2 separate regions of the Homo sapiens genome follow, and region 1 is linked to region 2. The links are contacts of gene promoters, found by promoter capture Hi-C in blood cells and fetal thymus (Javierre and others, 2016). All regions are on one chromosome and are shown on one strand. The core of a region is centred on a gene start or on the middle of the fragment in contact, and the rest is flanking DNA. Distances in the headings are between cores, read along the strand shown.

What was found. Contacts are between HindIII fragments. The CHiCAGO score rates a contact against its expected background, and 5 or more counts as called.
Region 1: a contact is called between a fragment that was not itself captured here and the fragment with the promoter of NCBP3 in region 2, in 1 of 17 cell types (erythroblasts). The highest score is 5.3, in erythroblasts.

The regions. Positions count from the first base shown.
Region 1 is chr17:4,107,413-4,112,675 of GRCh38, forward strand. It overlaps ZZEF1 (zinc finger ZZ-type and EF-hand domain containing 1), which reads right to left. Exons shown (of 55, transcript NM_015113.4): 5 at 5,197-5,263; 6 at 2,241-2,451. Among named protein-coding and RNA genes, the nearest start is that of ZZEF1, 33 kb to the right of the region's middle. The HindIII fragment of the contact is 378 bases long and covers 2,629-3,006 here.
Region 2 is chr17:3,843,953-3,849,782 of GRCh38, forward strand. It overlaps NCBP3 (nuclear cap binding subunit 3), which reads right to left and starts at 2,294. Exons shown (of 13, transcript NM_001114118.3): 1 at 2,089-2,294. The coding sequence starts at 2,271. RefSeq lists silencers at 1,993-2,282, 2,463-2,582. The HindIII fragment of the contact is 12,990 bases long and covers 1-5,830 here.

The DNA.
Region 1 (5,263 bases), core at 1,568-4,067, 260 kb after region 2:
CATGGTGGCCTACAGTGAGGTTTTAGAGCCTGAGCAGGGTGAGAAAGGTGTCTTCACAAAGGTACGGCCTGATATGGAATGCAGGCACCAAGTGAGGCAAGAAGGGTGGCCTGGCACAGGGTATAGGAACTCGAGGAAGATAAGAAGGGCATCTGTGCAAGGATGGCCACAGCAGCAGCTCTGCAAAAGATGCTGGAGCAGGAATGGGATAGGGAGGGTGTCCATGCAAGGGCAGGGGCAATGGGACACTGGTTACATAGAGGCGAACTGAGTAAGTACAAAAAATGTATTAAGGATCATGGGAAGCAAGTTTCTTAGTATCAGAGAAGGCAGTCACAAATAAAGAAATAGGCTGGGCATGGTGGCTCATGCCTGTAATCTCTGCACTTTGGGAGACCGAGGTGGGTGGATCTCCACCTAAAGAGCCCCTGATTCAGAAAAATGGCTGATTCCAGGACTAATGCAGGGAACATTCAAGATAAGCCTGGAATATCTTGTGTCAGAACATATGGAAGCATTCCGAGAATAATGAGACATGTCAAAAGGACACACAAGCCAGACTGCAGGGGTTGCCACCAGCCAACTCCAGGATAACATAAGCATCAAAACTGTGGCTGACTATAATCTAGTGCATAAAAGAGGAATCCACTAACATAAAGTTTTGATGAGGAATACGATATTTACATAGTCTCAAAGTACCGCCTTCAACGTATTTATTAATTATGAAGTGAAAAATATTTATTTTACAATGGAAAAGTCTGGCAAAAACCACTTTAATCAAGTGATCAAAGTTAACAAGACTGCATTAGAATGAGGACTATCTGAAGTTGTGTGCAACCCAATGGGATGCAATGAGAACAAAGCATCACTTCTATGATATTCCTGCTAGAGACAGATAACAAAACCTCAATCTGATCACAATAAAACATCAAATAAACCAGAATTGAAGGACACTCTTCAAAATAACTGACCTGTAATTTTCAAAAGTATCAGGGTCAAGGAAATACTGAGGAAAGTCAAGGAAATACTGAGGAATTGTTTCAGAATGAAGGAAACTAAAGAGAAAGGACAAAGAAATGCAGAGTGTTTCGCTGGATCCTTTTGCTGTAAGGGGCGTGACTGGGGCAACGTGCAAAACTTGCAGGGAGTCTGAGGATGAGATGGTGGCAACATAGCAATGTACACCAATGTGGATTTCCTGATTTCAATGGTTGTCAGTAAATGTTCTTGTTTACAGGAAATACACACTAAAGCAGCAGGAACGATGGGGCACAGGCAGGCAAATTACTCTCTAATGACTGAGGAAGAAATAAAAATTATTTGTTAAATGTAAACTTGCAGTGCTTCTCTAAGTATGAAATAATTTAGTGAGAATACATGCTACAACAGGAAGAAAGAACAAGGTATGGCCAACTATTAACCTTCAGAGCAGCAGTGTTATTTGCTAACAGTTTTACTCAATAGTGCTAACAAATCTCAAAAGATGTCTAGAGAACAAAATATTAGCAATCTCTTTTTGGCTGATACTCTCACCGCCTACACTATAGGTACCTATTATCAGTTACTGAATCTGCACAATACTAATATTTCAGTGCTGCTATAGCTGGTTGTATTTGTCTTATATGTTACTATTTGGTCTTTTTGCCCTAATGATTTTTTTTCAAAAGTACTCTACATTTCAAAAGAAATTAATTTAGTACCCTGAAAAGATTTCACTCATTCGTGGAAAGAGCCCTCAACTGATCCATTACTGCAGCCTGGTCTTGTGACTTCAGGAAAGGTCACAACATCTGCGTCTATAAAATGGGGTGATTTTCACAGGTACACTTCAGTGTCAGTAGGTAAAATAATAGACTGCATCTGAAAGGGCTTTATCCAACATCAAATCCTATAGAAACATGAGCAATTACTTCCCAATGGACAAGGAACAGGCACAGCATAAGTGACCTCCTCACAAGACTGGTCCACTTAGTGAGCTGATGAAGAACACTGTAGGAACTGTGTGACGAGGAGCAGGAAGGTGGAATGGGCACTTTTTCAGTCTGTAAAGTCAGAACGTCAATCAAAGAGAGATACACTGTGGAGCTGAGTGGCACGAACAGGAAACACTAGGGCACCTGAGGCCGAGCTGACTGAGCCACAACGATCAATGATGGAAGGCTGCTCAGTGATACGCCCTAAAGGATGATGGGAGAATGAGGGCATGTTGAGGGGGCTGGAACATAGAGAGAATGACTTACTGAGTATTGTGCAGCACTGTCTGGACAAAGGCGGGATTTGTCTCCATAGAAGCCGTCACCAGAGATGTCAGCAGAGACCAATACCATATTGCAGAAGCATCTGAGACTGAGACCCCAGACTTCTTAACTCTCTGAAAGCCAACAGCCCTGAGACCATGAATTCTAGTGTCGCAGCCATCGCTAAGACAACGCTTTATGTTAATCTGGACATCTGTCGAGCACAAACAAAAAATTCAGTATTGGATTAACTTCTTTAGGCAAATGCTGGGCTCCCAACTAAAAGCAAAATAGTAATAGACATTTTGAAAAGAAAATTCTGAAGGTACACTTTGATGACAGAAATAAATAGCATGTGCAATGGAACTAGTATATAATAAATTTGTCAAAAAGCTTTGACAAATCTAAGAAATCATAAGAATAATATGTAAAATTAAGGGTGATTTAAGTCTTTACAACAAAACTTCTTAGGAACTTAGGAGTCTTGAAAAAACTACACAAAGAACATTTTAAAACAAGCCTGTCTGAATACATGGTAAGAACATTTCTAGAATTCTTCCTAGGATTCTGAAATTTGGATTAAGTTATAGAACAGTGGCTGGCTTACAAGCAATTGTGAGAATTTATTTTTAATAATCAAATCCAAACAGATGACACAGACATGACTCACTTTTAAGAGATGTCACAATTTCTTATTTGGGTCAGAGGAGAGAAGGTAAGAATTTAAAAAGGACACAACTTAGAGAAAAGATCACAATATAAGACAGGAAGCTTCTAACCCACAGGCCTAACTACTTATTTGCTAGGGGTGAGACACAAAGACTCTACCTCCCTAGGCCTCAGTTCCTTTGAGCAAAGAACACTTCTTTTGGCCCAGGAAAGCATTAGAAGAAATGAGATAAAACATGAAGCATTCCGGCTCCCTGAACGAAATAAGCCCAGAAAGCAATCACAGAATTGTGATTATTTCCAAAATGCTATGTTTAAAGCAAGGTTATAATGGTATAAAATTGGAAACAATCTAAATGTCCAAGAATGAGGGGTGGGTTAAAATTACGGCTTTTTTTTTTTTTTTTTTTGAGATGGAGTCTTGCTCTGTTCACCCAGGCTGGAGGAGTGCAGTGGCACAATCTCAGCTCACTGCAACCTCCGCCTCCTGGGTTCAAGTGATTCTCCTGCCTCAGCCTCCCAAGTAGCTGGGATTACAGGCATGCGCCACCACGCCCGGCTAATTTTTGTATTTGGTAGAGACGGAGTTTCACCATGTTGGCCAGGCTGGTCTAGAACTCCTGACCTCAAGTGACCTGCATGCCTCAGCCTCCCAAAGTGCTGGGATTGGAGGTGTGAGCCACTGCACCCAGCCAATTACGGCATATTTTTACAACACTAAATAAGGATATTCGTGAATATAACACACTCTAAAAAATTACAAAAGAACATGCAAAGAATATCAACATTTTTGTAAAAAGATATGTATAGATTTATGTGAACAGATACATACAGCTCTATTTTTTAGGAAAAAAGGTGTGTAGATATGTGTGCATATATGTGTGTGTATGTAAACCATACACACACTTACACACACAAATACACACACACACGGAAAGGTCTGCAAGGATCCACATCAAGGCAATCATAGTAACAATCCCTGGGTAGTAGGATTTGAGTATTTTTGTTTATATTTTTCTAATTTTCCAATATGAAAATGTGAATAAAATTATTTTTAATGGGCCAGTGCAGTGACTCATGCCTGTAATCCCAGCACTGTGGAAGGCCGAGGCGGGCGGATCATGAGGTCAGTAGTTCGAGACCAGTCTGTCCAACATAGTGAAACCCCGTCTCTACTAAAAATACAGAAAATTAGGTGGGTATGGTGGTGTGCGCCTGTAATCGCAGCTACTCGGGAGACTAAGGCAGGAGAATTGCGTGAACCCCGGAGGTGGAGGTTGCAGTGAGCTGAGACTGCACCACTGCACTCCAGCCCAGGCGACAATGCGAGGCTCTGTCTCAAAAAAAAAATATATAGAAAAAACATATATATTACACATATAAGCATACACAATATATAAATATGTATAAACATATATAAAAACATATTTTATATATATGTTTATATATATATATATATTTATAATCCCAACGTTTTGGGAGGCCAAGGTAGGAGCATAAAGGCCAGGAGTTTGAGATCAACCTGGGCAACACAGTGAGGCCCCATTTCTACAAAAAAGTGTAAAGAAATTAGCCAGGCATCGCGGTGCATGTCTACATTCCAGCTACTGAGACTGAGGCAGGAAGACTGCTTGAACCCAGGAGTCTGAGGTTACAGTGAGCTATGACTGTACCACTGCACTCCAGCCTGGGTGACAAAAAGAGATCCTGTCTAAATATATATATATATATATATATATATATATATATATATATATATATATATATATATATATGTTTTGTTTTGTTTTTAATGAAAAAAATGATTTCACTGTTCTTCTATAATTTCCTTCTTTTTTTTGGTTTGAGATGGAGTCTTGCTCTGTCACCCAGGCTGGAGTGCAGTGGTGTGATCTCAGCTCACTGCAGCCATAGCTTCCTGGGTTCAAGTGATTCTTCTGCCTTAGCCCCCCAAGTGGCTGGGATTACAGGTACCCACCCCCACGCCTGGATAATTTTTGTATTTTTAGTAGAGACAGGGTTTCACCATGTTGGCCAGGCTGTTTTCGAACTCCTGATCTCAAGTGATTCACCTGCCTTGGCCTCCCAAAGTGCTGGGATTACAGGCGTGAGCCAGCATGCCCCGACGCTTTTCTATAATTTCTACAACACTTAATGAATGAAATAATGAACACTTTTGTGTACGTCCTAAGAAGCAAACCGAATCTCAAAAACTAACAGCCTCTTCACTTCAAAGTAAAAAATACTACTCCCTTGCTTTTCCCTATCCCCTCAGTTCTGTTGGACTTACAGAGCTGACTGACGTTGGCATTTTCCAGCAGCGTCACATAGCCAGTGACATTGCTGGGGATGTGCAC
Region 2 (5,830 bases), core at 1,044-3,543:
CAATAAGAAGATCAGAGCCTGTCCAAAAACTGAAGTGATTCCATCAACTCCAAGTATCCATGTAAAGAAAATCTAAAGGCTTTTGTGGAAAATGTCAAAAGATAAGGCACAGTCACTTAGCTCCCCAACCCAGTCTGAACGAATTCCTCATGCCCAGCCACCAGGTGGAGCACAACCCTCCACCTCAACGCAGAAGGTCCAGCCTCACCTAGAACTCCTGAGGCAAATACAGCACAGTGCAATGCAAAGGGGATGGGATTTGGAAACCAAGCGAGGACTGAAGCCTCAGCTCTGACAGTCACTAATTACAGGACACTGTATAGTTTTCTTGACCTCTCTGGGTCTCAGTTTCCTCTGTGGTATCTACCTGCCTTCCTGACCTCTTTTACTGCCCTTCCATTAGTACTACAGAAGTTTCCAACAATCCTGGACCCATCCCAGAGCCTCTGTGCTTGTTACTGGCCCTGCTGGGGGAACTCCTTTTCAATCTTCACAAGATTGGCTTTTTGTCATTTAGAGTTTATATGGAACATAAACTCCAGGAGGGAGGTTGAGCTTGATCAAGCACCTAGGGCTGTGCCTTGGTACATAGCGGGGGATGCAATAAATACATGTTGGCCGGACGCAATGGCTCAGGCCTGTAATCCCAGCACTTTGGGAGGCAGAGGCGGGCGGATCACCTGAGGTCAGGTGTTCGAGACCAGCCTGGCCAACATGGAGAAACCCCGTCTCTACTAAAAATACAAAATTAGCCGGGCACGGTGGCACATCCCTGTAATCTCAACTACTTGGGAGGCTGAGGCAGAAGAGTAGCTTGAACCCAGGAGGCGGAGGTTGCGGTGAGCCAAGATCAGGCCATTGTACTTGGCTACTCAGGAGGCTGAGGCAGGAGAATGGCTTGAACCCGGGAGGCGGAAGTTGCGGTGAGCCGAGATCGCGCCATTGCGTTCCAGCCTGGGCAACAAGAGCGAACTCCGTCTCAAAACAAAACAAAACAAAAACCATGTTGAACTGAATGACTAAAGGGATGATAACACCTGCTTCACAACTGCAGTAATATTTATTTATTTTGGTTTTGTTTTTGAGATGGGGAGAGGGGAAAGGGGGGACCTCAAAGGGGTCTTGCTATATTGCTGAGGCTGGTCTGGAACTTAGACTCCTGAATAGCTGGCACTAAAGGCGTGCACGGCCAGTATATTTAAGTGACACAATATAGTGAATGGTAAATGCTACTATATTAGCTGTTGTTAATCATAATTATAACGTTTGCCATCTCTAGCGATCATACTTTAACCTTTCTCCATAACTTCAGTCTAAATATGTTGACATGTGGTCAAAAGTAATTCATGTTAGGTGAGAAATTAAGAGGAGTCATCCAGGCCTGAAACCAGCTCTGAGAACTGGATATACAGCCACCAAGTCACAAGCAAAACACCTCTCACCATCCCCAGCGCGGTAAAGGAGGGACCAAGGATGTCTATTGGTCGTCTGCTAGTTTGCTTTCATTAAGAGTCAGATGCTGGGGCCACGGTGTAGGTGTCACTGGAGCTGCGGGGGGGGCAAGATGACCCCGAAGTCACGACAGAAACAGTGAGTTTCTGCTGCTGACAAGTGCAGCCCTCTCAAGACAAAGAGCGAGTGCCATGTTTCCCAGATACAAATTCCTCCGGGGCAAGACCCACAAGGAGACCTGGTTGCTGGCGCCACCCAACAGCTCCTTCTGGGCTGCCCCTGGTTCTGTTCCCGCCCAGGGCTCCCCCTTTATCTCATCCTTCCAGCCCCTCCTCACTCACCTCCTTGCACAGCGCGGCTCAGAGGGGGCAGCGGAGGGGGGTCCTCAACTCCCTCCCAGCTCTCCGCCACCACCCCCCAGCCCCCTCAACACCCATTTCCGGCGCCCCGGCGTCCTTTCTCCCGCTCCGCGTCCCTCCTCCAGCCCGGCGTTCCCGTTCCCAGGACGCTGGCTCCCTCCTCTCCCGCTCCCTTGACTTCCCCGGCTGGGGCTCCGGCCACCGCCCCTTCCGGCCCCCTCCGGCGCTAGACACTAGCCCCGCGACCTCTTCCTTACCCCCCGACCCCCGCCCGTACCGGGATCAGTTCCTTGAGCGAGCGCCGCACAGGCACGATTTCCAGCTCGCCCTCCTCCACCTCCATGGGCTCCGGCTCGCCACGGTCAACACCGGACTCCGCCTCAGGGGACGGGAGCCCCAGGGCCGGCCCCGCCGGGGCCTCCGCCTTCACCGACACCCGCAGGCCCCGTACGGCCGCCATCGCTGCCTGCCGGCCGCACCACTGAGAGCCCGCCCCTCACGGCCGCCGGCTAGAGCGCCGCTGCCACTGGCCACAGAGGAGCCGCCGCAGCTACCTAGAGCGTCGCCGGCTTCGGCCCAGAAGGCCGCCCTTAGCGCCGCCGCCCCCTGGTGGCGGGAGAAAACCGGGCCGGCTGCGCGGGCGGGACCTGGGGAGGAGAAGGCGGGACTGAGCGGGGACGGGGGCGGGGCCTGCGGGAACTACGGAGCTTGGAGGAGACCGGGGTAGTCAAGGGTTACAATGTAGCTACGCCTTGAGGCTAAAGCTGTACTAAAAGCCAACTTTCCTGAGTGATCACTATGGGCCAGACACTTCCAAGCGCTCGAACCCTTAGAACAACTCTATGAAGTAGATCCTATTTTGACCCCCATTTCATATATGAGGAAACTGAGGCATAGAAATTGACCCAAGGTGACGCCATTTAAGGGATAAAAGCTGGATCTAAGTCTTCCAGAGTTTACAATGAGCCTTGATATATCACCTCTGGACAATCTGTAGGTTTATAAAGTTACTTGCCTTGCCAGTCTTTGTCTCTTAAAAGTCTCCCCAAAATTGGCCCATGTTACATACACAAAAATTGAGACTCCAAGAGGGAGAGACCTGCCCAAAGGCCAGAACTTGGACGCCGATTTCCTGACTCCTGAGGGTGCCATCCACTGTAGACCTGTGAGCATAGTTTCCGGCGGATATTTCTAACGAGAGCCTGGTGGGGGAGAGGGGTTGTCTACGCGTCCCGAGGGTGTCACTGATCAGCTGCTGTTCTGAGTCCTGATTTTCTTTTTCTTTCTTTCTTTCTTTCTTTATTCCTTTCTTCCTTCCTTTCTTTCTTCTTTTCTTTCTTTCTCTTTTCCTTCCTTCCTCCCTCTCCTCTTTCTTTCTTTCTTTCTTTTTTTTTTTTTTTTTTGTAGAGACAGGGTTTCACCATGTTGACTAAGCTGGTCTCGAATTCCTAACCTCAAGCGATCCACCCGCCTCGGCCTCCCAAAGTCTTGGGATTACAGGCATGAGCCACCGCGCCCGGCCTGAGTCCTGATTTTGCATCTTCCTCCCTGGGTAACCTTGGACAGGTTTTTGGGTCTGTTTTCCCATCTGAGGAGGGCATAGGTGAGACCCTACAGTCTCTGAGGCCCTGAGGCCCTACCAGCTCTGACCATGGAGGAGCAAATAATGATAAACCAAGGAAGAGCATGGTCAGCATCAGACACACCTGGGTTTCGAGCTGGCTGGCCGGGCCCCATCCACCATGTGTGACCTTAGGCAAGCTGCTTAGCACTTTGGAGTCTCAGTTCCTTCATCAGTAAAATGGACCATTACCTACCTACAAAGGAGGTTGTGAGGGTTAAATGTGATAATTTATATGTAGATACAGGGTCCAACAGAAGGGGTGCAGTACATCACAGTTTTTCTTAAATTTGGGCTAAACCACAGGATAAACACAAGACAGAGCTCTTTAGAGGACTAGTTTTATTTGATGAATGGGACACAAAGTACTTTTAAAAATTGGGTTGAGGCCGGGCACGGTGGCTCATGCCTGTAATCCCAACACTTTGGGAGGCCAAGGCGGGCAGATCATGAGGTCAGGAGATCGAGATCATCCTGGCTAACATGGTGAAACCGTGTCTCTACTAAAAAAAAAAAATTAGCCGGGCATGGTGGCATGCACTACTTGGGAGGCTGAGGCAGGAGAATCACTTGAACCCGGGAGGTGGAGGTTGCAGTGAGCCGAGATCATACCACTGCACTCCAGCCTGGGCGACAGAGCGAGACTCCGTCTCCAAAAAAAAAAAAAAAAAATGGGTTGAATGCATACATAGAATATGTACGGGTGTGTGTGTGTGTGTGTGTTTAATTTCAAACAAAATGTGTAGTTGGGGTGGCCAGCTATAGGTAAGAGTCACAGCCCCCACCATTACTAGGCCTGTGGGGTTAGGGGATGGGAGAGGAGGAAGTAATCCCTCCTCAGCTATGGACACCAGGAGGCCAGTAGAGAAGGCTGGGCAGGCCCCTCACCCTGCTGGGGAGGATGCCTTGTTGCTTGAGGACGCAATTCGGTGAGGATTCAGTGTTGCAGTTCAGTGCCATCCAGAAGAGCCCCAGCACCCTGGCACACCAGCCGGCAGGTACATGAGGAGTCCAGGACAAGCCGGGACATCAGGCAAACACCAAGGCTCCTAGGCGCGTGTCAGGAAAGCCCTCTGTGCCTTGCTCTTTGTGGTCACCTTAGTCACCATCTCCCATCCCCTTTCCTGTTCGCGATGCAGCCTGCTGAGTTGGAGACACAGAGAATTTAGGAAGGTGGTAAGGGCTGATTTTCAAAAAGTTGAAAAACATGACTCTCAAACAGATGTAAAATGAACACATGTCAAAGCTGTTACCCAGTCATTAGAAAATGAGGAAACCAGTAGAAATATGAAGAATAGTTTGAAGGGGAACTTGAATGAATATGTGGTTGGTCAGTCAAAGGAATGCTGAGATGAATTTGACAAGGCAAGTTAATGTCCTGTAAGGCAAGAAACGATAACCTCCAGGACTCCCTTTACCACCAGACAGAAAACATTTGCATTACTACTGGACAAGAATTATTTACTTGTTATAAATTTTCTTTTTTTTCTTTTTTTGAGATGGAGTCTCGCTCTGTCACCCAGGCTGGGGTGCAGTGGTGTGATCTCGGCTCACTGCAAGCTCTGCCTCCCGGGTTCACGCCATTCTCCTGCCTCAGCCTCCCGAGTAGCTGGGACTACAGGTGCCCACCACCACGCCCGGCTACTTTTTTGTATTTTTAGTAGAGACGGGGTTTCACCGTGTTAGCCAGGATGGTCTCGATCTCCTGACCTCGTGATCTGCCCGCCTCGGCCTCCCAAAGTGCTGGGATTACAGGCGTGAGCCACCACGCCCGGCCAAATTTTCTTTTTTCTTTTTTTTTTTTCTTTTTTTGAGATGGAGTCTCGCTCTGTCACCCAGGCTGGAGTGCAGTGGCACGATCTCGGCTCACTGCAACCTCCGCCTCCTGGGTTCACGCCATTCTCCTGCCTCAGCCTCCTGAGTAACTGGGACTACAGGCGCCTGCCACCATGCCCAGCTAATTTTTTGTATTTTTTTTAGTAGAGACGGGGTTTCACCGTGTTAGCCAGGTTGGTCTCGATCTCCTGACCTTGTGATCCACCTGCTTCAGCCTCCCAAAGTGCTGGGATTACAGGCGTGAGCCACTGCACCCAGCCACCTGTTATGAATTTTCTATAAACCTCTACTCTCAGTTGTAAAATACCCTAATCAATAGTGCATAAGAAGTCAGACAAAGCTATACATCTGTAGAGAATCAGATGGTTCCCCAGGCAGATAACACCTGGCACAGTACCAACAGGGCATTTTCCTTTTTCTGTTTCCAAAGTCTGGATATATATTTTTTTTAGATGGGAGTCTCACTCTGTTGCCAAGGCTGGAGTGCAGTGGCACGAGCTTGGCTCACTGCAACCTCCCCCTCCCAGGTTTTAAGCAGTTCTCTGCCTCAGCCTCCCGAGTA